Linked DNA regions of Homo sapiens: region 2 is linked to region 1. The links are contacts of gene promoters, found by promoter capture Hi-C in human tissues and cell types (Jung and others, 2019). All regions are on one chromosome and are shown on one strand. Each heading gives the region's core, a stretch centred on a gene start or on the middle of the fragment in contact. The rest is flanking DNA. Distances are from core to core; before and after follow the strand shown.

Evidence for each region. Contacts are between HindIII fragments. The study calls those that stand out against the background at their distance.
Region 2: a contact is called between a fragment that was not itself captured here and the fragment with the promoter of CRYGN in region 1, in 2 of the 25 tissues and cell types used here (liver and spleen).

Annotation. Positions count from the first base shown.
Region 1 is chr7:151,437,494-151,443,710 of GRCh38, reverse strand. CRYGN (crystallin gamma N) reads left to right here and starts at 3,570. Exons shown (of 4, transcript NM_144727.3): 1 at 3,570-3,814; 2 at 5,467-5,715. The coding sequence starts at 3,794. RefSeq lists enhancers at 2,542-3,078, 3,790-4,290, 4,291-4,791, 5,153-6,002. The HindIII fragment of the contact is 10,973 bases long and covers 1-6,217 here.
Region 2 is chr7:151,608,132-151,614,348 of GRCh38, reverse strand. All of the region lies in intron 5 of PRKAG2 (protein kinase AMP-activated non-catalytic subunit gamma 2), which reads left to right. Among named protein-coding and RNA genes, the nearest start is that of RHEB, 91 kb to the right of the region's middle. The HindIII fragment of the contact is 8,202 bases long and covers 1-6,217 here.

The DNA.
Region 1 (6,217 bases), core at 2,321-4,820:
CATATAGCCACTTTGAAAGAGAGTTTGACAGTTTCTTTTTATTTGATTTGATTTTGAATTTTTTAGAGACAGGGTCTTGCTATGTTGTCCAAGCTGGTCTTGAACTCCCGGCCTCAAGTAATCCTCCTGCCTTAGCCTCCTGAGTAGCTGGGATTACAGGTACAAGCCTCTGCACCTGGCTTTTATTTTTTTTTCAGTTTGTTGCACAACTAAACATACCTGTAACATATGATCCAGCAATCCCACTCCTTAGTGTATAGTGAAAGGAGCACACAAAAATCTACACGTGGTTGTTTATAGAAGCTTTCCTCATAATTGCCAAAACTTGGACACAACCAAAATGTCCTTCCATTGATGAATAGATAACTAAACTGTGGTACTTCCAGACAAGGGAACATGATTCAGCAGTAAAAAGAAATGAGAGACTAGGCCAGGAAAAGATATGAGGGAATCTTAAATGCATATTACTAAGTGGAAGAAACCAATCTGAGAAAGCTACTTGCTGTCTTAGTCCGTTTTGTGCCGCTATAACAGAATACCACAGACTGGGTAATTTACAATGAACACAAATGTACTGGCTCACAGTTCTGGAGGCTGAGAAGTCTAACATCACGGTGCTGGCATCTTTCAAGGGCCTTCTTGCTGTATCATCCCATGGGAGAAGGGCAAAGAGAGGGTGAGAGAGAGCAAGCGGTTGACCTTGTAGCCCTTTATGGTCAGCGTTAATCCATGAATGAGGGTGAAGCCCTCATGACCTAAACCCTTCCCATGAGACCGCATCTTTCAACATTGTTGCATTGGGGATTAAGTTTCCAACACATGTGTTTTGGGGGACACGTTCAAACCGTAGTAGCTACATACTGTAAGATTCCAAATACATGACATCCTGAAAAAGGCAAAACCGTGAAGATAGTAAAAAGATCAGTGGTTGCCAGGAGTTAAGGGGGAGAGAGGGATAAACAGATGGAGCCCAGGGGACTTTTTTTTTTATCTTTTTTTTTTTTTTTTTGAGACGGAGTTTAACTCTGTCGTCCAGGCTGGAGTGCAGTGGCGCAATCTTGGCTCACTACAACCTCCACCTTCCAGGTTCAAGCAATTCTCACTGCCTCAGCCTCCTGAGTAGCTAGGATTACAGGCGCCTGCCACCACGCCTGGCTAGTTTTTGTATTTTTAGTAGAGACAGGGTTTCGCCCTGTTGGCCAGGCTGGTCTCAAACTCCTGACCTTAGGTGATCCACCCGCCCCGGCCTCCCAAAGTGCTGGGATTACAGGTGTGAGCCGCCGTGCCCAGCCCACACAGGGGACTTTTAAGGTGGTGAGAATACTCTACCTGGTGCTCTAATGGTGGAACCATGGCATTACACTGTAGAGGCAGCAAAGTTCTACCTCCATCCTCTTAGGGTCCTGGCTGGGCCTGAGAAATAAATTGACCTAAGACAGATTAACAAGAGAAAAGCATACAAACTTATTTAATACAAGTTTTATGTGGCATGGGAGCCCTTATAAGGAGATGAAGACCCAAAGAAAAAGTTAAGAGTCAAACACTTACATACTCAACTGGACAAAGAGTAGCAAGCTGTGAAAAATCAACCACATTATGTGGGGAGGCTTTAAAAATGTGTTATTTTAACAAAGTCTACGCCGCATTCTCTCAACTTCTCATCCTGTATCCCGATGTATAACATAGGTTCATCGGCTGTGACAAATGTACCACTCTAATGGGGGCGCTGATTGTGGAGGAGGCTCTGTGTGTGTGTGTGTGTGTGTGTGTGTGTGTGTGTGTGTGTGTGTAGGGGCAGGGGGTATACAGGAAATTGCTGTACCTTTTGCTGAATTCAACTTGAACCTAAAGCTGCTCTAAAAAATAAAACCTTTTTTTAAGGCTTATTTTTCCCTGTTGAAAATAAGGGAAGAGGCTTCCCTTTCCTCCCTTTTCTTGCAGAATTTCCTTCTCTGTCATTTTCAAATGTGTGTAAATCTTTTTAATGGCTAAACAAGCCTCTTGCCAGTCTAACAACTCAGTCATGTTTCCTCTGGGAGCCTCTTTGAGTCTTGACATCAAGGAGTAAGTGCCCCCACCCTCCCCGTTTCCTAAGAAGCCTGACTTCAGCTGTCACCTGACTCCAAATTGCAAAACCCACCTCCAGTCATAGAGATACAAGAAAATCAGCAATTTTATCCTGAAAACATGAATGCAGTGGGTTGTGTCTGCTTGGCTACAGAAGAGTGAGATCTCTCTCCATCTTTGCGATCTCTTAGGGGAGAGATCGTGATGCAGATCGCATTCCAGTTTAAAGTTTATTCAATAATAAAATTGTTTTTTTTTCCTTCTACCTTCGTGGAGAAGTTTTCTGGGTTGGCTGGAGATTTTGTTTTTAATTTTATGTCCCCACCAGGGCCCAGGTCCAGAGAGAAACATTGGAATGTGTGGCTTGGCAAGTAAGGGCGCCAGTGGAGGCAGCTGGGCGGCGTCCCTAGGGAGGGGCGTCCCTAGGGAGGACCGTCCCTGGGTTCAAGGGTGACATGCAGGTTCTGGTTTGTACCCTGTCTACTTTTGAAAACCTCCCACAGCAGAGGCAAGGTCACCCCTCTGCCCCAAGAATCACATAACCTCCTCTTCCTGGGCCTCAGTGTCTCATCTGTGAAATGGTCATAAAAATATACTGTTTGAAGGAAGAGCAGCCCAAACTCCTCCCCAAAGCTCCTCCCTCCCCTCCAGCAGAAGCCCCTGTGGAGCACCTGCCCCTCTCTCCTTTGATCTCAGAGCCTGTCCCCCACCACCCCAGCCATCTGAGTCATGAGTCCTGTGTTCCCAGCTCATCTCCCCAGCCGTGTGGGGGCTGCACATCCTGTGGGCTCCATGTTCGCTCTGCTCACTCCACAATCTCTGAGCCTCTGCTGTCTGCCAAGTGCTCGTTCTGGGCCCTGGGGAACTCTCCCTCCGCGGTGGGGCTGCTTTGTGCTGTAAACTGATCCTGGGCGTCCAGGGTGGCTTAGTTGGTGCAGCAGAGAGGCAAGGGGCAGAGCACTGTACCCCCAGCTCAGGGCAGCGCGGGTCACCTGGTCACCCTAGGCAGGATCTTCAAGGAGAGAGGGACCCAGGGAGGGAGAGTGCCAGGGAGGGAGGCAGGCAGGAAGAGAGCGGGAGGAGGGAGGCCTGACCTGGCCTGGCGTTTTGTGGGGTGTGGGGGGGTGCATCAGGAGCTGGGTGAGTTGGAGCCGGAGGTCTAAGGTGGGGACCTGGGAGCTCAGACCAGAGCAGCCAGGGGAGGGGCGGTCAAGGGCTGTCTGTCTGTCCGGGGAAGCTTGGGTTGCATCCTCGTGGAGACAAACAAGTTGGCACCAAGGCGAGACTACCTGCAGCCAGGTGAGAAAGGGGAGTGGGCTGGGGAGCTCGGAACAGGCCTTGGGAGGGAGGGAGATGGGCGTGAGGGCTGAGGGGCAGCGCAGGGGAAGAAAGGTTGGAGGGCTAGAGAGACACCTCCCCTCCTCCCCCCACCACTCCAGGGCAGGGCAGGGGCAGCCGCGGGCTGGGCGGGAGGGCTCAGGGAGGAAGGAGGCTCGGGAGCTAAACGCGGAGAGCACAGGGAGACCCCGGGCAGGGCGGGCTGCACTCGCGGTGGCACAGGGTGGCCGCGGCGGGTCCCAACCGCCTGGTGGCCCCTCGGGCTTAGCACGCCCGACAGCACTAACGCTCCGGGGCCGGCCCAGCAAATCTTTTGTCCGGGGCGGCGCTGAGCCAGCAGGGCGCTGCCCGGTGTAAACGGGGACCCGCGGAAGGGGCGGGGCGCACCATGGCGCAGCGCTCGGGGAAGGTGAGTGCGTCCCTCAACCCCAAGGAAACCGAGTGGGGCTCCGCCTTCGCCCCCTGTGCTAGGGGATGCAGGAGGGTGCACACTGTTGATGGTGACAAATCCAAGGGAAGCTGGTTTAATTTCTTAATAAAATGGGGTGGCCTCGCTACTGGCCTGGGGCCTCTCTGGTGTGGATGGATAGGAAGGTCTCCATCTCCACTCCTTCCTTCTGGGATTCCAACCCCTCGCCCTGCAGTCAGGAGCAGGGAGGGTGTTCAGACTCCCTGGGGCTTCCTTGGGGTGGGGGAGGCTTGGCTTGTCCCACAGCCCTCCGCCCCACTGCTGCGGCTTCTTTGCCCAAGGCTGGCCTCTATGGCTTTTCCTTCCCAGGGTCTCTTCAGGGACACTTAGGGCTGGTTCTCTGAAAAATGTTGAGATTTGAGGGAGCCCCGAATCCCTTTGGTGCCCAGACCTCCCTGAAGGTTTCAGGGGCCCTCTACCAGCCGTGCCTGGTGCAGGAAGGACGGGAGACCTGGCTCTCCCTCGCCCTCTCCAGTGCCCCTAGCCTAGCCACTCCCATGAAGCCTTTGGTCTCCAAGGCCACATTCCAGAGTGTCTGGGGGTGACTGTGTTGCTGTATCAGTCTGCATGGGCCAGGTGATGCTTCAGTAACAAAGGGCCCCAGTAACTCTGGGGTGCAGAACGCCAAGGTGTCTGCCTCCTTTCCGGTGAACGCATGTGGCCACGCCTGACTCCAAGGGGCCTGGAAGGGCAATTCTCGTGTTCTTTTGAGCGAACTGGAGACACTGGTGAGGCACAAGCGACCATAGTGATGGGGAACATCACTGCACTCTGGCAGGACCCTTCTAGGGCCACAGTTCTTGAAACCCAAAGAGTTACTAAATGGTTGAGATTTTAGGTTCCACAGCAGGAAATGAGTCTGGCGGGTTGTTATTGCTTCACTTTGTTTTGTTTCGGGACAAGGACAACCTGTGAGTGCCACGTAGCTATAAGACACGATGTCTGAACTCCCAGCAGGGTGATGGAGCTCCAGATCTGATACATGCCTGCTACCCAAAGGAGTGACCTACAAAACACAGAGAGACAGGGTGGCACTTATAAGCCCTCTTTTGCGAACATTAATCCCGAGCCAGGCCCTGACGCGGCTTCGGCCCATTCAGCCTCTCCAGTGAAGGAGGCCCAATCCCAGGAACCCGAATTTCTGCAAAATATATGCTGGGTTACCATGAGAGGGTTGTGGGTGAAATTTCTTCTTTTGAAAACACCTCCTTTAATGTTATTATCGGCTTTATGTTTTAATAATTAAAAAATGAGTTAAAAATGCAGTGGAAGTTGAAAACAGCCCATTTTGAAATGGGCACCTAGACAAAGGGGAAACCCCTGTCCCCAAATCGCTGCTGAAATTTGTCTGCCCCACTGTGAGCTCCTAAGGGTGGGGAGGAACAGTAGCTGTGTATGGCATCAGCCTGCCAGCTGTTCGTTCTTTTGCCCAATTGGCAAATAGTGTTGGGCACCTACTGTGTGCAGCAGGTCTGGGCTTTTGGGGGCCTGGGAGTAGGGGTTCCATCCAGGGTGTTGGGACCCAGACGCCAGCCTCCAACGCTGACGGAGAGAAGCCCCTGACCCTGAGCTCTGTAACCTGCCCTTTCTAGATCACTCTCTATGAAGGCAAGCACTTCACAGGGCAGAAGCTGGAGGTCTTCGGGGACTGTGACAACTTCCAGGACCGGGGCTTTATGAACCGAGTGAACTCCATCCACGTGGAGAGCGGAGCCTGGGTCTGCTTCAATCACCCCGACTTCCGGGGCCAGCAGTTCATCTTGGAGCACGGCGACTACCCCGACTTCTTCCGCTGGAACAGCCACAGTGACCACATGGGCTCCTGTCGGCCTGTAGGAATGGTGAGTGGGCCCGTCCACCGAAGGCTGAGTCTTCCTGCTGGAGGGACCGAGGGTCAGCCCTGGCAGACAGTGGCAAGGAATCGGGGAGCGTGGTCCTCCCGGCTTTAAAGTCTGTAAGACTGAAGGAGCTATACCCAGAGCCACCTGCTGGCATGAGGTGAGTAGGTGGGGGGCCAAGTTGCTATGAACTGAGTGGGAGTGGCCCTGAGTTTTCATACAGGTATCAATAAACCACTTTAAGTTTCGGAGCCAAAAATCTAGCTGCATTTTCCATTTAAAATGCTGTTGAAATCATCCAAATTTAGATTTCCAGCCAGATAGGGGACACTCCGCCAATGGGAGGCTGATTTGGGCCTAGTGTGGCCACTAGTACAGGTGGTCTTGTGGCACATTCTGGAGCCTTCCATGTCTTGGAATGGCTGATGGAGGAAGCTGAAGAATCACCCGCCTGTCAGGGGAAAATTGGGGGGCAGGTCCCTTGGAATTACACAGGTAGCTGCCG
Region 2 (6,217 bases), core at 1,330-3,829, 170 kb before region 1:
CCCATGGCCTCCCTGCCACCCTGCTGCTGCTCCCCCATCGCCATGGGGTGCCAGCCCCTGCCCCATGTCCCCTGCGAGCTCCTGAGGATACCCTCAGATCTGAGGGGCTCAGGCCTCTGCCTGGAATCCCTTTTCCTGCCTTCAAGACACAGCTGGAGACAGCGTCACCTCCCCTGACAGGCCGTGTTGGAGTGCTGGCTGGGGCGCTCAGCATAGCCGTGGGAACGGGGCACCTCCTGGTCGGCTCCAGTGAGACCAGAGAGTTGGTCACTGGAGCGGGGGTGTCTGAGTTGGAGGTAAGGTGGATCACCTGAGGTCAGAAGTTCGAGACCAGCCTGACCAACATAGCGAAAGCCTGTCTCTACCAAAAATATGAAACTTAGCCAGGGGTGGTGGTGTGCGCCTGTAATCCCAGCTACTTGGGAGGCTGAGGCAGGAGAATCGCTTGAACCCGGGAGATAGAGGTTGCAGTGAGCCGAGATCGTCCACTGCACTCCAGCCTGGGCAACAGAGCGAGACTCCATCTCAAAAAAAAAAAAAAAATGCTTGGGACTGCTGCCGGGCACAGTGGCTCACACCTGTAAGCACTTTGGGAGGCCAAGCTGGGCAGATCACCTGAGGTCAGGAGTTCAAGACCAGCCTGACCAACGTGGCGAAACCCCATCACTACTAAAAATACAAAAATTAGCCAGGCGTGGTGGTGGGTGCCTGTAATCCCAGCTGCTTGGGAGGCTGAGTCAGGAGAATCACTTGAACCCAGAAGCCAGAGGTTGCAGTGAGCCTAGATCCTACCACTGCACTCCAGCCTGGGTGACAGAACGAGACTCCATCTCAAACATATATAAAATAAAAACCAAAATGCTCGGGACTGGGAATGTTTCAGATTTAGTATTTTTTCAGATTTTTGAGTATTTGCATCATACATACCAGTTGAGCATTCCTAATTCAAAAATCCAAAATCTGAAATGCTCTGATGAGCTTTTCCCTTGAGTGTAGTATGGATGCTCAAAAAAATTTGGATTTTGGAGCATTTCAGATTTCAGGTTTTCAGATTTGGGATGCTCAACCTGTGTATATCACTGTTGTTATTTTTGGAAAACATGTTCATGCCTTTTATTGCTATTACAAATAATAATTTCTGAAAACAAAGTTTAAGTTATTTCAGGCGTTATTGTAGAAGATACTGCGTCAACCCCAACTGTCTTTCTTCCATCTGCCCAGTCTTAGAGTGCCGCAGGTAGCTCCTGTTTGCCCCCAGGTCCCATTTTCACCCTGCCTCACCTGTCTTTCTCACCAGGGAGGCTGAGTGTGGGACACATCGGCTGGGCTCCCGTATTCTGGGGTCCTGTTGAGCTTAGCCAGTGAGGAGCCCCCAGAGGAGGCAGGTGGTTACTCCTGTAGCTCCCTCATCCTGGGAGGCTGCCGCTACCTGGCTGGACTGCTCGAATGAAGGTCGCTGCCCCACCCAAGGGGACTGGCTCTACCTGAAACTCTCTCCTTCCAGGTTTTGTAACTGTTCCTCACCCCAGGTCTAGGGCTGGTAACAGCTTCAGGTTATTGCACTATTTCTTGGGGTTCCCCATGCACCTGTGCCTTTGGGAATGGTCCCATAGACGGTCACTCGCTGAGCATCATCTTAGAAATGGGGCTGTGCACTATGAAGGTGAGCAGGCAGAGGTGGGTACGCTGGTCAGACCCCTGGACTGGTGACAACCGCCAGGCAGTGCACAGAGTTGGAGTGATGGGGGGCAGAACCAGACCATGGCAGCAGCCCCTACGCCTGCTGATGGGACAGAACAGGTGGAAGCAGGGGGTTCCCCAGGTTGCTTCACAGTGAGCAGCAGTGGCAGTGTCTTGCCTAGGCAGGGCTCTGTGCTTGGGGCCTCCAACTCTGTCCCCTACCTGTGTGGGTCAGTAGGGGAGAGGCACACTGCAGGTCTCTGCAGTGTGATTTTAGAGTTGACAAGCCTTATACCTAAAAGCTCTCTAGCAAGGCATAAACCTTCCATTTCACAAGTACAGATAAGGATTAAACTAGGAACACCCTGCAAGAAGGGACTGTGGTAGCTGACGCTCACTCTGCAGTGCACTCAGCGGCTCCCAAACCTGCGGGCAGGTTCAGCAGAGGATGGGCATCCTGGGGAGAGACAGGCTGAGCATGTTACTCAACTCTCCTCTTTCTCTCTGCATGTAAGTCCAAAGTCAAAAGCACTGCATTTAATTCAGCTCCTTTAGTGATGCTGGTGTCGCTGTCCTCCCACAAAAGGGAGCACAGAAAGTGCTGAAGGGAGTAACACATTGGTGCTGACGGAGTCTCACTGTGTCGTCCAGGCTGGAGTGCGGTGACACAATCTCAGCTCACTGCATCCTCCGCCTCCCAGGTTCAAGACATTCTCAAGCCTCAGTCTCTCGAGTAGCTGGGACCACAGGTGTGCACCACCACGTCCAGCTAATTTTTGTATCTTAGCTGAGGTTTCATGTTGGCCTGACTGGTCTCGAACTCCTGACCTCAAGTAATCTGCCCGCCTCGTCCTCCCAAAGTGCTGGGATTACAGGTATGGGCCACCGTGCCCGGCCCGAGACTGCTTTTTTACCATCTTAATGTTGTCTGAGATGATGAGTGTGAGATCTGGACCACCCCACGTAAGTGCGCCAACGTCTTTTCTAAGAAAGCTGTTGTGTTTCCAGCTTTCCCTGCGGTTCCTGCCACTTGTCCTGGTGGGATGGGGTGGGCTCGGCTCTGCTGGATCCACGCCTCACTCATGGATCAGATCATTCCTTTCTCAGTCTGTGCTCACTAACCTGGCCTCCATCTCTTTACCACTTAATTGATATTTCAGTTTCCTCATCACTTACTGATTTATTTCACTTGAATCACCAAGTCCCTAGAAGACTGATGGTTACAAAATTAAGCATGAAGCTGAGGAACGGATCCTGGAACAGGGCGGCCTCTGGCAAGCGCTGCACCGCCCTGGATCTGAGCACCTTTGAAACCGCAGCAAGCATTGCTTAGTAAACGAAGGTGGTTCTGTGGACAAAATCTTCGCATAATGGGTATAGAATACAGAGAGGAAGATGCCGAGGGGTGTAACCATCGATCAGCACTCCGCTGCTCTCTGTGTGTGGGTTCCAGATGGGGAAGTCCTCCTTGGCATTCTGACCCCAGTGTGCTCTGCTCCCACCCTGCACGCATCTCTTCTCTGTTCCTTCTTTTGACTTAAAAGCAGAGAATATAAAAAATGACTTATTTAGAGCTCCCTGTGGCCATTTTCTCAACTTTGAATTGAAAATATTGGCTGGGTGTGGTGGCTCACGCCTGTAATCCCAGCACTTTGGGAGGCCAAGGTGGACGGATCACCTGCGGTCAGAGGTTCAAAACCAGCCTGGCCAACATGGTGAAACCCCATCTCTACCAAAAAAAGTACAAAAATTAGTTAGGCATGGGGGTGGGCGCCTGAAATCCCAGCTACTCAGGAAGCTAAGGCAGGAGAATCACTTAAACCCAGGAGATGGAGGTTGCACCACTCCCAGGAGAAGGCAAAATTGCACCACTGCACTGCAGCCTGGGTGACAGAGCAAGACTCCATCTCAAAAAAAAAAAAAAAAAAAGAAAAGAAAAAATATTTATAATATGCTAACACACTAAGGCTTTGTTTTTTGTTTTTTGTTTTTGAGATGGAGTCTCGCTCTGTCCCCCAGGCTGGAGTGCAGTGGCGCGATATCAGTTCACTGCAACTTCTGCCTCCTGGGTTCAAGCAATTCTCCTGCCTCAGCCTCCAGAGTAGCTGAGACTACAGGTGCGCACCACCACGCCCAGCTAATTTTTGTATTTTCAGTTGACACAGGGTTTCACCATGTTGGTCAGGATGGTCTCAATCTTTTGACCTCGTGATCCGCCTGCCTCGGTCTCCCAAAGTGCTGGGATTACAGCCGTAAGCCACCGCGCCCAGCCCACACTAAAATGTTTGTTTGTTTGTTTTGAAATGAAGACTCGCTCTGTCGCCCAGGCTGGAGTGCAGTGGCGCAATCTCGGCTTGCTGCAAGCTCCGCCTCCCAGGTTGACGCCATTCTCCCGTCTCAGTCTCCCAAGTAGCTGGGACTACAGGCACCCGCCACCATGCCCGGATAATTTTGGTTTTGTATTTTTAGTAGAGACGGGGTTTCACCGTGTTAGCCAGGATGGTCTCGATCTCCTGACCTCGTGTTCCGCCCACCTCGGCCTCCGAAAGTGCTGGGATTACAGATGTGAGCCACACTAAGGTTCTTATAGTCTGGAAAGTAAGCAGCAGTCCCTGTGTATGTTGACATATTAAAATGTGGAGCATGAGATAAAGGTGGTGTTGGCAGCCTCCGGGGTAGAGCCAGCTACACAGGTGATAGGACTAGGTCAGCAAGTTCGTGCTGCTCATGGCAGGAGAGGTGTGTCTGCAGTCAGTCACCCAGATCGTGTGGTGAGGGAGCCCCAAATGGTGGGCACGGAACCGCTAAGCCTGGACTGTTTTCTCAGAAGGTCTTCTTTTCTTCTCACGTTAGAAGCTTCCTTTTCTAGTTGAGGCCAACCCCTTCTGAAATTGGAGTAACCATTCCCAGGAGTGATGGGACAATCCTCCTTCTAGACTAAACAAGAGTTCCAGGACTGGACCAAAAGAAGTGTGGAACTTGAGGGTGGGAAGTGAGTCCTCACGCTCTGCTTCTCGGGGCGTCTATTCCCTCACTGTGTGGGTGTTGCCAGTATCAGTGGGGAGAGAACCTGGGACGGGCAGATTGATGGTAACTGTCTGGTTAGTAGTGGATTATTTTAGCAGTTGTTATTTTTATAAATAGGACACGTTGAAATCCATTTTGAGTCACTATCCTGCTCTTAGTTTGATTAAGGTGTATAAGTAAAATGAATTTCATACTGGTATGTGTCTGTTAAATTATCCTTTAGTATTTTTGCCTGACTAATAAATGATTAGTGATAGTCTGTCTTGTTCATTTTCATAGAATTAAGGCCAAGAAGACCAAAGAATTACACCGTCTTACAACACATTTTTTTTATATAAATTCTTTCTAAATTAAAATTCTGTGTAAATGGGTTTCAGAAAAAGTAATTGATGACTGTAGTGCTTATCTCTGAAACATACTTGTCCAGTTGTTTGCTGTATTTGCAGGTGTTTTTAAAATGTGTATGGTAGAATGAACATTTGAAGGTCTTCTGCAATCTTATTCAATTCAACTGCATTTTTTTGTCTAATAGAATTAGAAAATAGCTTCAATATAAAATATACTTGTAAACATGTTAAAGCTTTATTTAGATCAATGCTGTTTCACTTAAAAAAACAAAAATTGCAGTGGTGTATGCCTATAGTCCCAGCTATGTGGGAGGCTGAGGTGGGAGAATCCCTTGAACCAAGGAGTTTGAGGCCAGGCTGGGCAACATAGTGTGCGACCCCATCTTGAACAAAAAAGAAAGAAAGAAAGAGAAAAAAATCACATGAGGCACTTTCATAGGTGCATTATTTCTCTTACAAAAAAAAAAATCCATGTCTAATCCTTTAATCTTATAAAGGAATATAAAGGTAATCCTTTAATCTTATAAAGGTATATAAAGGTTTTTGTTTTGTTTTGTTTTTTTATACTGGTTATTAAATCTAGATTCACCAGTGTTCTTTTAAACCTGCGTGCTTCATTTGCTGACATTTCCTCTCTGAGGTCAGGAACACAATATAGTCATCTCAGATCCGTACTTGCCCCTCTCAAATTTGATCTGTGCTTCTTCAGTGACTTGCAAGATACCAGGCATTAACTCATGCCTGATATCTACAATGAACCTTCCAGGGGCCTGGATTATAGAGAAGAGCAAGGGACGTCCACTGCTGCCCCCCGGTGCGCATGTCTAAGGGAAGAACAGACCTGTAACTTCAGTACAAGGTGTGTGTGACTCACGAAGCATTAACAGGCATGTCAAAACTGGAGCAGTTAATTCCGACCTGAGGGGCTCAAAGGGAAGGTTTTATGGGAGGAAGTAGCCTTTGAACTGAACTTTGAAGGCCTATTAGTTTCCCAGGATGCCACAACTTGGTGGCTTAGACAACAGAAGTTTATTTCCTTGTAGTTCTGGAGGCCAGAAGTCTGGAGTAAGTCATCAGCAGGGTTGGTTCCTAAGTCCTCAGCAGGGGTGGTTCCTTCTGGAGGCTGAGGGAGAATCCGCCCCACGCTGCCCTCAGCTCCTGCT